7 separate regions of the Homo sapiens genome follow, and all the other regions are linked to region 1. The links are contacts of gene promoters, found by promoter capture Hi-C in blood cells and fetal thymus (Javierre and others, 2016). All regions are on one chromosome and are shown on one strand. Each heading gives the region's core, a stretch centred on a gene start or on the middle of the fragment in contact. The rest is flanking DNA. Distances are from core to core; before and after follow the strand shown. Region 1 holds the start of DYNC1I2 (dynein cytoplasmic 1 intermediate chain 2). Region 2 has its middle 69 kb from the start of RAPGEF4. Region 3 overlaps PDK1 (pyruvate dehydrogenase kinase 1). Region 4 overlaps PDK1 (pyruvate dehydrogenase kinase 1). Region 5 overlaps PDK1-AS1 (PDK1 and ITGA6 antisense RNA 1). Region 6 overlaps PDK1-AS1 (PDK1 and ITGA6 antisense RNA 1). Region 7 holds the start of ITGA6-AS1 (ITGA6 and PDK1 antisense RNA 1).

Region 1 (2,545 bases), core at 15-2,514:
TCAGCTACTAAACTCCATTAAGACTGGCAAGCGAATTGATAATTTTCAAGCATACGAAAAGGATGAAAAGTTGACATAGCAGACCTGAAATATATACACAATATCTTCCAAGATTTGTTTGAACAAACTAAAAGCAAGAGACCGTGTTTCTTATTCCACTCTTTCTACACCTCTAAACAGCTCCATACAAACGGCTGGTGAAGAGAACTTCCATACGTAACTGTATGCTACGCTAGGCACATTATATTTTGTTCAACGTCAACTGTAAAACAGATATACCAACACTAATTGATATTAAAATAAGCGCATTTTTAAAGCCCAACAACAAAGTCTTGACCAGCTGAACTACAGCTGACCAATCCTCTCATCCTCACAGAAGCCAGAGCCTTCCTCCATGACCGACATGTTCACGTTCTTAAAACTCAAGAGAAGAGAGTCTCTAGAGTTTTGTGCTAGAACCTCCGTGTTCGGGGGCTTTCCATCACACATAAGGTGAGGGGAGACACTATCAAGGCAAGTAGAGATGGCCTTAATTTGTAAAATGGGGCAAGGCGAAAACGAATCACTTTCTCCCCTGGGGTCACGGCCAAGAGGGCGCGGTCCACGGCAGGGCGTCCGGAAGAAGCCAGTGGGCGCCGGACAAGCCTCAAGGCTCCCCAGGCCGCCTCTGGAGGGTCGAGAAGGGAAAGGAGTGGACTCCTCTCGCCGGGCCGCAATGAGTCACCGCACCCAGGTCTCCCCGCCTTTCCTCCCCAAAGCTGGGCCGGGCGGGGATGTCAGCAGGAACTGCCAAGCCGCCCTTCGAGTTGCGACGTGGAACACAGGCAGGGAGGCCTTGAGGGAAGAACAGTCAACCCACCTGTCAGGTGACTGGATGGGGAAGAGTCCTCCCGCCTGCAACTTCCCGGTAACGTCCCTCGCCTAAGCCCCCAACACCAACTGTAGCCACCACCAGCTCCGCGGCTTTCCAAAGCACACAAAGAGGGATGGGCGGCGGCTGCTACGGCGAGAGCTTAGGGACAAATAGCCTCACCAGAACGAGGTCGCTCCCAGAAATAAAAGGTGGGGCCCTGCTGCGAGGAATTGTAGCCCCTCCGTGACTTACCTGTCGTAAAGCAGAAGCCGGTAGATAAAACAAAGAACCCAGTCAACCCAGGGGCCTTAAGTATTTCCGCTTTGCCAAAAACTGGAAAACTACGCCTAATATTCTCAGGCCAGGAATCCAACTTCCGCCCTCGCCTTACAAACTGACACGATCGAGAAGAACTACAAACCCCGGCAACAAGGAAAACCTGCGTGCGACGAGCAGTGCGTTCTGGGAATTGTGGTCGCTGGGCGTCGCAAGGTGTGCTGGGACATGTAGTGTGTCCCCTCCTTTAGATTTCCCACTCCAAGGCCTTCTTCCGTCGAGAAGCTTCTGTATAAAGTATTCTCGTCTGTTGATCCGTGCCCACAGTGTAGTATGTGTTATAGTGTAAGATCTTTGACCCAATATTGGCGGAATTTTAAGGTCTATTTTCCAGTGGTGAACCTGTGAATCACGCTGCTGCACATTTGGTGAAGACGTGAAGTAGACTGTTTAGGATGTAAAACATTATATATATATATGTACATACATATGTAAGTTTTAGGGAAAGAATGTCTTATATAGGCTTCATGTGGCATCTTAGGCAAAATCTAAATAAAAATATGTCAACTGACATAGCAAATAATTCTTTAGTATTTTGTTGCAGTGTGGTAGCATTTTGGTTTTCTCTCAAACAATTTTAGGAAATAAAGCATTTTGTATTATTGGACTCTCAAACCAAGCTAGAATGTTTTCCACAGTTAGATTTTTAACATACAAAGAAAACAAAAGTTACTGGAACATGAATTTACCTGCAATGTATACATTGACACACCTTTTTAAAGTTTAAATAATTTAAAGCATTATTTGGCAGGAGTTAAAGCTAACACCAAGGTAATATCTTTTCTATGTTCTAGAAAACTGATTGTTCTAGAAGTTCTAGATATTGCCCAAGTCTAGAATGAACCTTTATGATTCAAATTCCAAGTCCTTGGGCTTGTGGTCTTTTTCTTATCTTTCTCTGCCTTATCTGTGGTCTTTTGTGTAGAAAAAAATATTCTAAAAATAAATTTGAGAAAGAAAATCCTTGGCTTTCCACAGCTTTTCCCAATAACCTAACATTCAAAGAGCTTTATAGCTATGTTATTTTTTTACTTCTTTCCTAATAGTTTTCATGTATTAATTTGAAAAAAAATTATTATTGATTGCCTACCATGTGCCAGCAATGGTGATGGGTGTTGTGGTAACAGCTAAAATGGACCAGGCGCAGTGGCTCACACCTGTAATCCCAGCACTTTGGGAGGCCGAGGCAGGCAGATCACCTGAGCTCAGGACTTAGAGACCAGCCTGGGCAACATGGTGAAACCCCGTCTCTACAAAAAATAGAAAAATTAGCAGGGTGTGTGGCATGCGCCTGTAGTCCTAGCTAGTCACGAGGCTGAGGCAGGAGGATGGCTTGCGCCCAGGAGGCGGAGGTTA
Region 2 (2,545 bases), core at 18-2,517, 980 kb before region 1:
AGAGCACTACAGAATACAGAATTACCTTATGAATTAGCTTATATCTGACAAGAATGTTTTATCAGATGGTCTTTACAAGAAACTGAGGTCATTGCAGTAATATTTGCGAAAACCATGCTTTTCTAGTTTCTGAATTTGAAGCTTTCACATCCAGGGAGTTGCTGACCTGGAGGATTTGTCCTTCCCAGGGTTAGCTAATTTCCAGAGATAGCAAATGTTTGCACCTTTCATATGCAAACCAACTAATTCAGAGCCTACATTACCAATCACCTTCTTTATTTGGTTCTTATACTCTGTGAAACTGTATCCCTCTCCTAATCACCCCTGGGCCAGGTACCAGGCAACTAGGGACAGCCCCATTGCCCCAGACCTTGCTGAAATTATTCAAAATAGTTCATTCTAAACCTGCTCACTCTGTCTTGCCTGTTCCTTCTGCAGACAACCACAATAAAGGCCCTTTCCCACATTTCCCTCTCATTCCCTCTGCTTTCTGACCACCCCAGTCCTACTTCCCTAGAGGTCCTGCTTCTGTTTTCTAGGAATATGTGAGTATTAAAAATGTCTTCCTTTTTCTAGTTCCCTTGAAAGGGTGAAAGGGTGAGAGTGGGTGAGAGATGAGAGACTACCTAATGAGTACAATGTACATTATTTGAATGATGGTTACACGAAAAGCCCAGACTTCACTACTACATAATATATCCACGTAACAAAACTGCACCCCTTAGATTTATACAAATAAAAAATTAAAAAATTAAAATTTCTTTCTTCACAACAAAACTTTCTGTGTCTGCGTAGGATATAATAAATTCCTCTTCAAAGGTTTTAGCCAGTAAATTGTTAAGTACAATGAGTTCTGAGATCCTCTCCAAAGAACTAATGTATCAGTATGTTCAGCTCTCTTGTTCTTTGTTCTTCATTTTAAACTTCCTCATTCTTTACGTCTCTTGCCCCTAGTTTCAGTAAATAACCCCCTTCTAGCCTCTATCACCTGCTCTGACCTTAGTCACCCCGGTCACCTACTCTGACCTTAGTCATCTTTGGTCACCTGCTCTGTTCTTAGTCACCCTGAGTCACCTGTTCTGTAACCATCCTTCCCACCAAACTAGTCACCCTGCCACTCCAGCTCGTACCCCTGCTCTTTTTAAAATAGCCAATCAGAATTAGCTTAGACTGTGTGGTCCAACCCTAGCCAATAGGGGAACGACACAGCAGTAGGGGCTACCTGCGTCAGGGATAAGAACCCCTTCCCCTCCCTTGTTCAGGTGTGCTCTCGCCATTGCTCCATCCACAAGATACACCCTTCTACAGAAGTAAAATTGCCTTGCTGAGAAAATTAAATTTATGTTTGAGTGCTATTTATTTGTGGCACTGAAAATTTATTTCCAACATCTGTATAGACTACTGGAGAAAGATACCTACAGGAATGTCTTCTCTGTACTCCTCTATTGATGTAAATCTTGAGCCTTTTAACGTACAACTGAGACATAAGGAATAGCATGTGTAGTAGGTTAGTGGGACCCTAGTCAAGTTGAGCTGTGGAAATGATAATCTTGTCAATGCAAAGGAGGAAATGCCTCAGTAAATCAAAGTATTGATCGTATATACAGCCCTCAACAGAGACCTAAAACATCAGGCCTTAATTAATAAAGAAGTTTATATTTCTTATATTACCAGAAATCTGGGAAGAGGAAATCCAGAGCTGACCCAGCTCCTCAAATATGCAGGCTCCTACTATTTTTCTGTTCCATCATCCTTACCTTTTGGCTTTCATGCTTATGGCCACAAAATAACTGCTGCTTCTCCAGGTGTTATGTCTGAGTGATCCAGGAAGAAAAATGAGGGAAGGAATAGGGCAAAGGGCTTTGCTAGCTCAGTCTGACCATTTCCATAGACACTCAGACTTTTCCACAAACCCCACCCCATCGATTGCTGCTTATGTCTGTTTGACCAAACTGTGCTACTTGGTCACAGGAGCCTAGAAATTAGATTTTAAAATGCCAACGCTGCATATCTGATTCTTCCTGTGCAAACTGGGGTTTTGTTATCAAGGAAGAATGAGAGAGAAAAGGAATCTGGTAGGCAAATTGCACTTCTGCTACAATTTTTAACAAAAGTGAGGTTAAGGGGCTTCAGGGTAGGCTCAGGCAACAGCAACAGCATAGCCACCTGCCTCTTCATGGATCCAAACAAAGGACAAAAAGTGAATTTATATGCAAGCCACACCTTCAGCATAACCTAAAGACAGAATGTCCAAACTTCAAAATAATTATGAATAGAAAGAGAATAATAAGTCCTCAGAACATAATTTCTCATTCCCTCACCACACCCTAGCCCTTAGGGCAAACAAAAGCAAACCTAGAGAGCTGCAGGGAAGGCAAAATAGGGAAGCTTGTGAAGGATCCTGAGTTTGATTTAACACTAGAAAGTCTAGGTCCACCCTAGTCTGAGATCAGAGCATGGACTTCAGGAAGGAACTTGGAAGTCTGGGCAATTTAAAGGGGGCAATCATTGAAACCCAAAAGTTCTGAGAAAGAACAAAAGAAAC
Region 3 (2,545 bases), core at 16-2,515, 900 kb before region 1:
AGTCACATAAAACTTGCTGTCAAATCAGTCAGGAGGTATCTGTAAAGGACTGCATAAAAGTCCAAAAAGAGTATGCACTTGTTGGTTTAAAGAAACTAAAATGATGCACTGTCAGTACAGCTTTTGCAAAAAAGACAATGTGACACTCCAATCTGCAGACCCATATACAAAAAAAAAGCCTTGGCAGTACATCAAAAGTTTGGCGTTATCAATGTCCATTCATGTGTTTTATGTTAAAATTAAACTTGTATGATATATAACTTATGATTCTCTACTTTAACCCAATTTTTTTCCTATTAATAGACAGAGTCCTAATCACTCCAGGATACAAATCTCTTTCCCCATAGTTTTAGGGGATCATCTATCAAAATGGGTGAGATCCCCAGCAAAAAACCATAGTTTTTTTCTATTTAAACAGCATGTGGTAGAGTTAAATTTCATTACAGTTAAGTATGGACATCTGTTCTTATCATCAAAAGAAATATTAAATCAAGAAGACTACAGCTATTACCTTAATGTAGATAACTGCATCTGTCCCGTAACCCTCTAGGGAATACAGCTTCAGGTCTCCTTGGAAGTATTGTGCGTAAAGACGTGATATGGGCAATCCATAACCAAAACCAGCCTGTTTGATGAGAAAAACAAAATTCTATTCAGAAAGACACACACTGAAATACTTTTCTAATTAAGATAGATGCCATTGAGTACCACGGGGCTATCAGAGCCCGCATCTGAGAGATGCATTATATTTAATATAATTAATATTTAAGCATTGACAATGATTAAGCTGAGGTTTACTTGAGTACTGTATCAGCTGACTTCCCTCTGGTCATTTAAAACTCTTTATTCTTTCTATAAAATGACTTGTGGTTGGTCTCGAAAAAGCATATTGCTTTTCCTTGCTGGCCTGCTCGGTCGTATTGTGTCTGGAATTGGTTCCTTCCAGTGGGTTCTTGGTCTGCGGACTTCTCCAGGAGAGGGGAGAAGAGCAGCATAAGCAGCTGGCAGAGGCAGGGAAAGACCAGCAGAAAGGAAAGAGAGAAAGAGACAGAAAGTCAGAGAGAGAGACAGAGGAAGAGAGAGACAAAGAGGGAGTCAGAGAGAAAGAAAGAAAGAGACAAAGTCAGAGACAGAGAGAGGAAGAGACAGGGACAAAGAGGGAGTCAGAGAGAGAGAGAAAGAGAGACACAAAAAGTCAGAGAGAGGAAGAGACAAAGAGGAGTCAGAAAGAGAGAGGCAAAGAAGTCAAAGAGAAAGAGAGATAGAAGTAGTAAAGAAAAAACAGTGTACCCTATTCCTTCAAAAGCCAGGGTAAATTTAAAACCTATAACTGATAATTGAAGGTCTTCTCTGTAACCCTATAACACTCCAATACCACCTTGTTGTCAGTGTAAACAAGGGCATAGCCCGGAAGCACTGAGACCACTGACAACCCGTAGCTTTCCTATCAAAAATCCTTAACCCAGCAGGTTTCCTAACAGGGGATCTAAATCTGAAGGTCCGACCAGACACAGGAGGAACTCCCTTCAGGACAGGACAATAGATGTTTCCTCCCAGGCGATTAAGGGAAAAAGACACAATGGGTACTCAGTAAGTAATAAGGAAACTATTGTAGAAGCAGAGTTAGGAAAATTGCCTAATAATTGGTCTGCTCAAATATGCGAGCTGTTTGCACTCAGCCAAACCTTAAAGTACTTACAGAATCAGGAAGGAGCCATCTATACCAATTTTAAGTTAATATGGACTGAACGAGGTCTTATTAATAGCAAGGAATAATTGAAATTCCAAACTTACAAGGTTTTCAACAAAAGTAAAGTTTGCTAAAAGTTAACAGTGTAACATTTATTATCTTAACTTCTAATCTTATGGAAATCAGACCCTATCAGTGCCCCTCAAAGCTCAAGTCCATCAGCGCAGGGCCATACAACTAATACCCCTACTTACAGAGTTAGAAATGGCCACTGCTACAGGAACCGGAACAGCCAGTTTATCTACTTCATTATCCTACTACCAAACACTCTCAAAGGATTTCTTAGACAGTTTGCAAGAAATAACGAAATCTATCCTTACTCTACAATCCCAAATAGACTCTTTGGCAGCAGTGACTCTCCAAAACCGCCAAGGCCTAAACCTCCTCACTGCTGAGAATGGAGGACTCTGCACCTTCTTAGGAGAAGAATGTTGTTTTTACACTAACCAGTCAGGGATAGTATGAGATGCCGCCCGGCGTTTACAGGAAAAGTCTTCCGAAATCAGACAACACCTTTCAAACTCTTATACCAACCTCTGGAGTTGGGCAACATGGCTTCTCCCCTTTCTAGGTCCTGTGACAGCCATCTTGCTATTACTCACCTTCGGACCCTGTATTTTTAACCTCCTTGTCAAATTTGTTTCCTCTAGAATCAAGGCCATCAAGCTATAGATGGTCTTACAAATGGAATCCCAAATGAACTCAACTAACAACTTCTATCAAGGACCCCTGGACTGACCCGCTGGCCCTTTCACTGGCCTAAAGAGTTCCCCTCTGGAGGACACTACAACTGCA
Region 4 (2,545 bases), core at 25-2,524, 890 kb before region 1:
TATTGTTAACTCTAAGATGGCAACACTTCCCAAATGATGCCCATCAAAATTCTAGCTGGCATTGTTTTTTTGCAGAAATTGACAAGCTGATCCTAAAACCCATGGAAATGCAAGAACCCATAACAGCCAAAATAATCTTGAAAAAGAAGTTGTAGGACTCACACTTGCAAATTTCAAAACTTAAAGCTACAATCATTGAGACAGGCATTAAGTACTTGCATAACGAGAGATATATACATCAATGAAATAGAACTGAAAATCCAGAAATAAATCCCATACATTTATGAGCAATTGATTTTTGACAAGGGTGACAGGGCAATTGAATGGGGAAAGAATAGGTTTTTCACAAATAGTACTGGGACAACTGGATATCCACATGCAAAAGAATGAAGATGAACCTCTACCTCAAACCATGTACAAAACTTAACTCAAAATGGATCGAAGACCTAAATATAAAAGCTAAAACTATAAAACTCTTAGAAACATAGGCATAAGTCGTCAAGACTTTGGAGTAGGCAATGGTTTCTTAGACATAAAACTGAAATCACATGCAATGTGAAAAAAAAATTGAAAATTTTCAAAACTAAAAACTTTGGCTGGGTGTGGTGACTCACACCTGTAATCCCAGCACTGTGGGAGGCCAAGGTGGGAGGACTGCTTAAGTTCAGGAGTTCAAGACCAGCCTGGGCAACATAGCAAGACCCCATCTCTATTTAAAAAAGCAAAAAACAAAAAAACACAACTTTGTACTTCAAAGGATACTATCAAGAAAGTGAAAAGAACCCACGGAATGGGAGAATATACTTGCAAATCATACATCTCATCAGGGACTAGTAACCCCTATATACATATATATATATCTAGAGAGAGTGTATATATATATACACACACATAGAATATATACACACAAATAGAATATATATAGGGTGTATATATATACACACACATATATGTATATATGCGTATATATACACATATGTATGTATATATGTATATGTATGTGTGTGTATATATATACACACACATAGAATCCCTATATATATATACACATATACATGAGAGAGAACCGTTACAACTCAACAATAAAAGACAGCCAATTTTAAAACTGAAAAAAGGATCTTAATCTACATTTCTTCAAAGATACACAAATGGCCGATCAGCAAATGAAAAGATGCTCAACATCATAGTCATTAGACAAATGCAAATAAAAACCACACTGAGATACCACTTCACACTCACAATAATGTCTATAATAAAAAAGACAGACTACAATTGTTGACAAGGACGAGGTAAAACAGGAACCTTCACACATTGTTGATGACAATGCAAAATGGTGCAGGTCCTTTGGAAAACAGTTTGGCAGTTTCTCAAGTTAAACAGAGTTTCCTATGATTCAGCAATTCAATTCCTAGGTATATACATAAGATAACTGAAACACATGTTCACACAATAATTTGTACACAAACATTCATAGCCATATTATTTATAATAACCAAAAAATAGAAACAAACCAAATGTCTATCAACTGATGAATGGATAACCCAAAGGTGTTATATCCATATAACAGAATATCATTTGGTCATAAAAAGGAATGAAGTACAAATGCATACTATAACATTATACTAAGTGAAAGAAGTCAGTAACAAAAGACCACATACTGCATGATTAAATTTATATAAAATGCCCAGAAAGAGAAATACACAAACAGAAAATAGATCAGTGGTTGCCAAGGGCTAGAAGAGAGAAAAACGGGAAGTGACTTCATAGGTACTGCGTATTTTCCTTTTTTTCTTTTTTTCAGATGGAGTCTCAATCTGTCACCCAGGCTGGAGTGCAGTGGTGCAATCTTGGCTCACCGCACCCTCTGCTGCTGGGTTCAAGCGATTCTCGTGCCTCAGCCTCCTGAATAGCTGGGATTACAGGCGCCTGCCACCACACCCAGCTAATTTTTTGTATTTTTTGTAGAGATGGGGTTTCACCATGTTGGCCAGGCTGGTCTTAAACGCCTTACCTCAGGCAATCTGCCCAACTTGGCCTCCCAAAGTGCTGGGATTACAGGCATGAGCTGCTGTGCCTGACGGAGTACTTGGGTTTTTTCTTAGGACTGATGAAAATGTTCTAAAATGAGACAGCGGCAATACTTGAATAACCTTATGAATTCCACTGAATTGTACCTTTTTTAAAAAAGGAACAATGGATGCCTTCAAAATTTTGCAGGATGATTATTCTCAGCTTCGAATTTCATATACAAACTTAAATATTGGGATAATAGTATAGGGAAACTGGCCCTTGGGCTAGGGGAGGGGAGGGGAGCAGGTGCTCTATTAAAGAGAGCTAACTCCTCAACTACTATAACAGAAAGGTAATATTTACTGTTTAAAATGTAAACATTAGGCCAGGTGCAGTAGCTCATGCCTGTAATCCCAGCACTTCGGGAGGCCGAGGCAGGCGGATAACACGAGGTCGAGTTCGAGACCAGCCTGGCCAATATGGTGAAACCCTGTCTCTACTAAAATACAAAAAATTAGCTAGGCGTGGTGGCGGG
Region 5 (2,545 bases), core at 20-2,519, 860 kb before region 1:
TTTTTTTATGAGAGTTTGTGGCAATGGAGATAGACTTTGCACACAAAGAGTCTGAGTGGTGGTGGGGTGGGGGGTACTATAAATGAGACTATGAGCCTCAAGAATTTACAGACATGGACAGGGAGAACTCTAGACTTTCACAAACTGAGACTGGTAATGTTAAAAGATAAATTTGGGCACATTAAAAGTTTTAAAAATTTATTTGAACTGTTGATTTAAAAAAAAGACTCAAACTCTGTAAAATATTTTAAGAGATTTATTCCGAGCCAAATGTGAGTGACCAAGGCCTGAGGCACAGTCCCAAGAGGTCCTGAAAACATGTGCCCAAGGTGGTCGGGTCATAGCTTGATTGTGTACAGTTTTAGGGGAACAGAAGTTGCAGGCAGACATCACTCAGTACATGTAAAGCGTACACTGCTTTGGTCTGAAAAGGCAGGACAACTTTAAGACGTAATATAGGGGGATTGGGAAACTTGTGGCAGGAGGGGGCTTCCAGGTTATAGGGAGAGTCAAAGATTTTCTGACTGGCAATTGGTTGAAAGAGTTAAGTTACTATCTCAAGACCTAGGATCAATTGAAAGGAGTGTCTGGATTAAGACAAGGGGTTGTGGAGACCAAGATTCTTATTACACAGATAAAGGTCCCACATAGCAGGCTTCAGAGAGAACAGATAGTAAATGTCTCTTATCAGACCTAAAAAGGTGTCAGACCTTAAAAGGAAAAACCTGGAAAGGGAAGGGGATCCTCTACAGAATATAGATTTTCCCCAGAAGAAATAGCTTTGCAGGGCTAGTTCAAAATATGTCAAAAAAATATGTTTTGTAGTAAAACACTTCAGTTTATTTCAGGACCTGCTATCTGTCATGTGTTGCTACTGAGGAGTAAATTCTGATTTTTTTATCTTGCCCAAATTCCTATCTAAGAGTTCTGGGGAGTCATGCCCTACAAACCATAAATTCTCATCAGATGGGTTTTATTTAACCCTATATATCGAGACTTACTTTTCACCCTGACTCTGGAATAACATTACATGACAAGGAAGAAAAGCAAAATATTTTATCCCAAAACATGTTTTTTTGCCATATCTTGAAATGGCCCTGCAAATCTGTCTTTTGTGGGGGAAAATTTGCATCAGTAAAGAATCTCTATTAACATAGCTAGATCTTTTACTTCCAGGCCCTCCCAATCCTAAAAAGATTAACTTAAAGTCTAGCACCTTTTAAAGATCTGAATAGGAAACGTTTGTCATCTGTTGTCTCTGAGGGCAGCCACAATAAAACTTCAAAAGAACCTTGGTCTCCACAATCCTTTATCTTAACCTGAACATTTCCTTTCTGTGATCTCAGGTCTTTAGATAAACTCAACCAATTGTAAATCAGAAAATGTTTAAATTTACCTATAGCCTGGAAGCCCCAACTTTGAATTGTCCTACCTTTCAGGACTAAACCAATGTATTTCTTAAATGTATTTGATTGATGTCTCATGCCTCCCTAAAATGTATAAAACCAAACTGTGCCCCAATCACCTTGGGCACATGTTCTGAGGACCTCCTGAGAGCTGTGTCACGGGGCCATGGTCACTCATATTTGGCTCGGAATAAATCTCTTCAAATATTTTACAGAGTTTGGGAGTCCTCGGCCTCCCAAAGTTCTGGGATTACAGACGTGAGCCACTGTGCCCAACCTTGTAACTGTTTCTTATCAGACTTTAAAAAGGTGCCAGAGTTAGTTAATTCCCTTCTGAATCAGGGAAAGTACTTGGAAAGGGAAGAGGATTCTCTGTAGAATGTAGATTTTCCCCACAAGAGACAGCTTTGCAGGGCCATTTCAAAATATGTCAAGAAATATATTTTGGGATAAAATCTTTAGTTTCTTGCAGAACCTGCTCCTTGTCATGTTGGTATCTTAGGCTACAAACAGTCTGTTTTGTCAGATGTAAAATCTCTATGTTAATGTTAATGCTGGTCAGCTGTACCTAAATTCCAGAAGGGAGGACAGAATAATGAGACATGTCTGACCCCGCCTTCCCATCATGGCCTGAACTAGTTTCTCAGGTTAACTTTGGAATGCTCTTGGCCAAAAGGAGGGGTCCATTCAGTTGGTTGGAGGGTTTAGAATATATATATTTTTTGAGACAGAGTCTCACTCTGTTGCCCAGGCTGACGTGTAGTGGCATGATCTCAGCTCACTGCAACCTCCGCCTCTTGGGTTGAAGTGATTCTCCAACCTCAGCCTCCCGAGTAGCTGTGATTACAAGTATGTGCCACCACACCTGGCTAATTTTTGTAATTTTAGTAGAGATGGGGTTTCACCCTGTTGGTCAGGCTGGTCTTGAACTACTGACCTCAGATGATTTGCCCACCTCGCCTCCCAAAGTGGTGGGATTACAGGCCTGAGCCACTGCCCCAGCCGAATTTTATTTTTGGTTTACAAGGGAGAAGCTCATTGGGTAAACCAACTAAGGAGGGGCAGAATAACCAAATACTTATTTTATTTTGTTAATCCTTTCAGAGGTGCAATGGTTTTCACTCACATCTGTGTGAAGA
Region 6 (2,545 bases), core at 34-2,533, 830 kb before region 1:
CCCTTTAGAGGTTACAGTTTTACTTAAATTGGATTTGGAGAGAGTTAGGGGTAAGAGAGAGATAACAGTGCCCATTATCAGAAAGAGGTTTTTCAAATTATTAAATTTTACTTAAATCTTAGCATAGAATTATAATTTGGGATGTCTCTTGTCTACAAGGAGCACATGAAATTTTGCCGTGGGCCACCTGCAGAGCTGGAGAGCTAAGCAGACTGGTCCTGGAGTGGCAGCTGTGTTGCGCTTGCAAAAGCGCTGCTTTTTTCTGTGCCGCTTTTCGCCTGTGCCACTTCCTACCCCCGCTGCCCAGTGGCTGTTGCCCACTGGGCCGACTTTCCCACATGCGCCTCCTGCCTCTCTCTAACAGGCTAACTTCCAAGCACTGGGCCTGGCTGTTTGTTGCCGCTGCCTCCGTGTGGACAGAGTTCCTGGGAGCACTTGCTGGCTTTGGTTTCCCGAACTTCCTCTCTGCCAAGTCTCTCCTTCTGCTTACTGCTCGCTTGGCCGCCTGGCTTTGGCCTCTAATGCTTTTTTTTAACAACTCTTTAGGTACCTGATTGCCTTGCTGATTTTGCATTATTGGGCAGGCTAAGAGCTCCCCTTTTAATGCTGCCTGCTTAAGACAGGGTTTCATAGCTGTAGTGTATCTCTTGTTTTGTTTTTTTTTTCTTATCTATTGGAGGAGGTGGCTCAGGCACAACTTCTGTTTCCTCTTTGTTATTTTGGCCCAGTAATATCAGGGCTGAGGGAAGAGGAGGCGATAAGATAGGTGACGGTTCCTCCTCCTTCCCCTTTTTAGGCTCTTCTGTGTATAACGGAACTAGGGCTGCTCTAATTAAAGCCCATAGCATTAAAAGCTGTTACTGGGACACATTGCCCTTGTGCATAACGTTGTTTAATATTTCTCCCCACTTGTTCCCAGACCTCTACATCTAGCGGTCCTTCTTCTGGGAACCATGGATTAAGTGAGACAACAGTTTGCATTGGGTCTCTTAATTGAGCCTGCAAAACTGATGCTCCCCTAGCCTTAAGTAACTGTTTCAACACTTTTATGTACTGTCTTTGTTGAACTGATAACTATTGTCCCATGATGAAATCTCAGCCTGAACAATCCCCCACCCCCCCAAACTTGGTAATCCCAAGCAGGCACCAATGACTCACTGTTTTACTGACTTGACCGCCAGTCCTCTCCACCTTCATTTCTGGGGGTCTGTCGCGCTCCCTTCACAGCGATCCCCACACAGGGCACCAGCTGCGGAGTCTGTCCCACAGACCCTGACCCAACAACGGATGAATAAAGTACACTGACACACAGATATGCTGCTTTGCCAGTCCAGCTGAGTGTCCAGGCTGCTTACAGACTACAAGCAGAGTGCTGTAAACAGTTGTGACTGCGGCCTTGATCAGTCAGTGAGACTTGCATTTATTCAGTAAAGGTTAATTGACAAAGGTCGTGAGTAAACACCACTAGAGGGTAGTTGACATTGTGGACCTCCTGAGTAGAAATCAGTTAAGCACCCACAGTAAATCAAAGGTTAGTCTTAGGACCACATGAGTAAACAAGCTAGTTAGATAAACTCCGCACATTCCTTTGTTTCTACTTTAATTTACTTAACTAAGGGGACAAGGCTGCCTTCAGCCAAGTTTATTACTGGAGCTTATGCATCTCCCCCAGGCCTTCCAAGAAGGTTTGCGTCTTATAATTTTCCCCACCATCCTGACTGAATCCCCAGAGGCATGCATTAAACTCTTTCTCTATTGCAATCCCCTGTCTTGATAAATTGGCTCTATCTGGGCAGTAGGCAAGGAGAACCTATTGGTTGGTTACAAAGTTTATAAATTTGGAAAGGAGAGCTTTATTTTTCATAAAAGTTTGCAGCTGGCAGGGTGACCATTCTGACACTGGGAAGGATAGCCTCTGGCCAGGAGCTAGAAACAGATACTTTGAGGGAGGGGCAAAGGGAACAGGAGTCTATGCTGAACAGAGTGGCCAGCAATAGGAATCATGAATATTTACAAAAGGAGAAATGTGCATATATGCAATGGGGCTTCATGCCCCTTCATGAGTCACATGTACACTAGCCAGAGCCACTCTGTGGTCAGTGGTCTCTTATTAGGAAGAAATGCTGGTCAATTGTTGTGTCAAAACCCCAAAAGGGAGATGCAGCATCCCTTAAATTCAGGTTTTCAAAATTACTCTGGGGTCCCTGTGGCAAAGAGGGGGTCCATTTATTTGGTTGGGGGGCTTAGGATTTCATTTTTATTTTTCAAAATAGGGTTGAAGGCAAATACTTGAAGTTGCAATCGAAGGTCAAGAAAATGGAATCAAGAGGTCACAATCCTTCTCTGATGATGGCTTAGAAAGCTGGAAGACACTCAACATTGAATCCTGGGGCTCTGTGCCATGCTTGCTAGGAGAAACAGCCACCATGAGTCCATCTTTCAGATCTCAAGTGAACAGGTATGCAAGTCATAGAATTAAATTTATTTCAGCCGTGTGCGGTGGCTCACTCTTGTAATCCCAGCACTTTGGGAGGCTGAAGCAGGC
Region 7 (2,545 bases), core at 31-2,530, 780 kb before region 1:
TGGAATCTTTCAAACATTTGAAACATAAAGTACTTAGCTCTATATAGTTGCCTATTTTGTCCAACAATACCCTTTGCCCTCTCTTGATACCTAGGGTCCTGAATGCAGAAGGTAAGTGAAACTGTAAGACTAAGGGAGCCCTCCAAAATACATCTCTTAAGGCAACAATGTAAAATCTAGTATTCCAAACTGCAGCTACCATCCAAACTAACAAAAAAAATGGGTACTTCTCTATATACTCCCCAATTTTTTTATTTAACAGCATTAAATGTTCTCTTCTTTACTGGAGATGGAAGAAAAAGACTCAGATTTACTTTAGGATCTTGTAGCTGACAATGTATCAATGCCAAACAGGAGAGTTACTGTTAGTCAGAGAGACGGGGACCACAAACACCACCAGGTGCTCATTTCAGTATCAATTTAAACCCACTGTGTGACCTATATCCAAATTTTGCACTCCTCCATAAGTAGCAATACAGACACAGGTTTTAATCTTGAATCATTACAAAAACATTAAACAACTTTAGACAGAAGGAAAAATGCCAAAATGTTAAAAAATAAGTCTAGATACTGAGATTGCCAGTGGGTTTTTTTATTCTTCATAGGTCTGTGTATTTTACCAGCTTCTTAAAATTAACACATATTAGTTTCTAATAAAAGAACACATGTTATTTCTTTTCTTGAGATGGTATCTTGCTCTGTCACCCAGGCTGGAGTGTAGTGGCACGATTTTGGCTCACTGCAGCCTCTGCCTCCCAGGTTCAAACAATTCTCACGCCTCAGCCTCCTAAGTAGCTAGGACTACAGGCGTACACCACCACGCCTGGCTAATTTTTGTATTTTTAGTAGAGATGGGGTTTCACCATGTTGGCCAGGCTGGTCTTGAACTCCTGACCTCAAATGATCCACCCAACTCGGCCTCCCAAAATGCTAGGATTACAGGTGTGAGCCACCGACGCCTGGCCAACAAATGTTATTTCTAAAAGATGAAGAAGCAAGAGAAGAACATAGACACGAATCTGCAAATCTACTTAGACCGAACATATCAAACGAGGTTTGGCTAGAGCTTCTCAGTACACTAATTGCTCTGCTCAACCTACAAGAAGCCAGGTACACTGGATGTCAACATGCCTACCTCATGGTATCTTCTACCTATCCAGAGCCCTTAACAAAACAAGTCTCTATCTGAGACAGGAGGGAAAACTTTATCTCTGTTAGCCAGCTCTCATTCCAAAGGGGTCTGATATTTAAAACTGTCTTTCTCCCAAATATTTTAACAGCATGTGAGAACTTTTGGCTGATGAATACAAGATACGCTCATTCATTCTCTTCATTGCTATGAAATGAGTTTTTCCACAACCTCCTGCAGAACCTCAACACATCACTAGGTGGCAACATCCCTACACCATATCGGTTTAGAAACCACGGTTAGGAGGAGCAGCAAAACACGCGGCATCCCAGTATGATTCAGAAGTAAAGTAAGTAAATATTTTCAGGGCAAATAAAAAACAGTCAAGTCTGATGCAATTAAAAGAAGTCCTCTCTACAAGAATAAATGTTTGTCCCCACTCTCCTCCCTCATGGAAACAGTACAGGCAAGCTGCCGGAGTGAACGCTGAGTGAGGGAAAGGAACGCACCATCGTTATCAAACTCGATCCGCGTGCATGGCCCCCGGGCGGTGATGTCGCAGCTGTACAGCCCTCCCGTTCTGTTGGCTCTCTGCAGTGGAAGCGCTTCTGCCCGCGGGGCCCCCACGAGCAACCTGTTGATGAAACAGAGACAATTTGGAGATTTGAATTTAATATACGTTTAACAGTTAAATCAGTCAGAACTAGGAGATAGTGGGATTATTCTTTGTCTAGGAGTCCACTAATTCTTCAACAGCTTAGGCAGTGAGTGAGAACAAATGTAGAGTCCTATGGCTGGTTCATGCAAAACGCACAAACACAACTAAACAGGGGAAGCCAAAGAGGGGATACCAAAACGAGGAAAATAGGCCTGTCTCTCATAGTATCAGCATTTCTTGCTGGGTATGATCTGGTGTTTAAAAGACACCCTCTTCAAAGAATACAACCTCTAAGCCCCTATGATGCCAGGGATATCATATGAAACTCAAGAGAAGAAACCAAATACTTGTGACAATGGAAGGAAAAAATGGCCACACTAAATGTAATAAGCAATAATATGTCAGTTTCTAACACTGTGCCTTCCTGAGGTAGTTTTCAAGGGTAATTCTGACTATATCTTAGATTTTCAGTTTATATACTAATTGAGAGAACCTAATGGTAAGTAAGATACAACTCGACTGAATTATTCACTTGCAGCCTTGGCCTCTTTCCAATTCTTTTTTTTTTTTCCCTCCAGTTTTATTAGGGTAGAATGGACAAATAAAAAGCAGATATATTTGAGGTGTACAAGTTGATGTTTGTTCTTCCAAGTCAGTTCTTACTTCCTTGCACTTTTGTCACATTACAAGAGTTCGTCCTCTCTCATCCTATCAGTCTCCCACAAAGGATTCAGGGACAACTGGTGTAGCTCCACTTA

Evidence for each region. The method cuts DNA at HindIII sites, captures the fragments that hold promoters and counts their contacts. A CHiCAGO score of 5 or more calls a contact.
Region 2: a fragment that was not itself captured here is called in contact with the fragment with the promoter of DYNC1I2 in region 1 in 1 of 17 cell types (naive CD4 T cells); the score reaches 5.0 in naive CD4 T cells.
Region 3: a contact is called between a fragment that was not itself captured here and the fragment with the promoter of DYNC1I2 in region 1, in 2 of 17 cell types (naive CD8 T cells and non-activated CD4 T cells). The highest score is 6.5, in naive CD8 T cells.
Region 4: a contact is called between a fragment that was not itself captured here and the fragment with the promoter of DYNC1I2 in region 1, in 1 of 17 cell types (non-activated CD4 T cells). The highest score is 5.8, in non-activated CD4 T cells.
Region 5: a fragment that was not itself captured here is called in contact with the fragment with the promoter of DYNC1I2 in region 1 in 6 of 17 cell types (fetal thymus, naive B cells, naive CD4 T cells and 3 more); the score reaches 9.0 in fetal thymus.
Region 6: a contact is called between a fragment that was not itself captured here and the fragment with the promoter of DYNC1I2 in region 1, in 1 of 17 cell types (non-activated CD4 T cells). The highest score is 5.5, in non-activated CD4 T cells.
Region 7: the fragment with the promoter of ITGA6-AS1 here is called in contact with the fragment with the promoter of DYNC1I2 in region 1 in 10 of 17 cell types (fetal thymus, naive CD8 T cells, naive CD4 T cells and 7 more); the score reaches 12.0 in fetal thymus.

What each region holds. Positions count from the first base shown.
Region 1 is chr2:171,686,188-171,688,732 of GRCh38, reverse strand. It overlaps DYNC1I2 (dynein cytoplasmic 1 intermediate chain 2), which reads right to left and starts at 1,264. Exons shown (of 18, transcript NM_001378.3): 1 at 1,106-1,264. RefSeq lists an enhancer at 1,094-1,263. The HindIII fragment of the contact is 4,493 bases long and covers 1-1,416 here.
Region 2 is chr2:172,665,177-172,667,721 of GRCh38, reverse strand. It overlaps a transcript of PDK1 not described here. Among named protein-coding and RNA genes, the nearest start is that of RAPGEF4, 69 kb to the left of the region's middle. The HindIII fragment of the contact is 2,247 bases long and covers 144-2,390 here.
Region 3 is chr2:172,591,015-172,593,559 of GRCh38, reverse strand. It overlaps PDK1 (pyruvate dehydrogenase kinase 1), which reads right to left. Exons shown (of 11, transcript NM_002610.5): 10 at 512-625. Among named protein-coding and RNA genes, the nearest start is that of PDK1-AS1, 36 kb to the right of the region's middle. RefSeq lists a silencer at 1,415-1,622. The HindIII fragment of the contact is 4,568 bases long and covers 1-2,545 here.
Region 4 is chr2:172,571,978-172,574,522 of GRCh38, reverse strand. The region is part of intron 8 of PDK1 (pyruvate dehydrogenase kinase 1); the gene reads right to left. Among named protein-coding and RNA genes, the nearest start is that of PDK1-AS1, 17 kb to the right of the region's middle. The HindIII fragment of the contact is 7,478 bases long and covers 1-2,545 here.
Region 5 is chr2:172,548,738-172,551,282 of GRCh38, reverse strand. All of the region lies in intron 1 of PDK1-AS1 (PDK1 and ITGA6 antisense RNA 1), which reads left to right. Among named protein-coding and RNA genes, the nearest start is that of PDK1, 6.1 kb to the left of the region's middle. RefSeq lists enhancers at 968-1,709, 1,710-2,452. The HindIII fragment of the contact is 2,623 bases long and covers 1-2,545 here.
Region 6 is chr2:172,512,247-172,514,791 of GRCh38, reverse strand. The region is part of intron 1 of PDK1-AS1 (PDK1 and ITGA6 antisense RNA 1); the gene reads left to right. Among named protein-coding and RNA genes, the nearest start is that of PDK1, 43 kb to the left of the region's middle. The HindIII fragment of the contact is 3,528 bases long and covers 1-2,545 here.
Region 7 is chr2:172,464,757-172,467,301 of GRCh38, reverse strand. It overlaps ITGA6-AS1 (ITGA6 and PDK1 antisense RNA 1), which reads left to right and starts at 1,280. Exons shown (of 2, transcript NR_157573.1): 1 at 1,280-1,478. It overlaps ITGA6 (integrin subunit alpha 6), which reads right to left. Exons shown (of 26, transcript NM_000210.4): 2 at 1,639-1,763. All of the region lies in intron 3 of PDK1-AS1 (PDK1 and ITGA6 antisense RNA 1), which reads left to right. RefSeq lists an enhancer at 870-1,039. The HindIII fragment of the contact is 13,641 bases long and covers 1-2,545 here.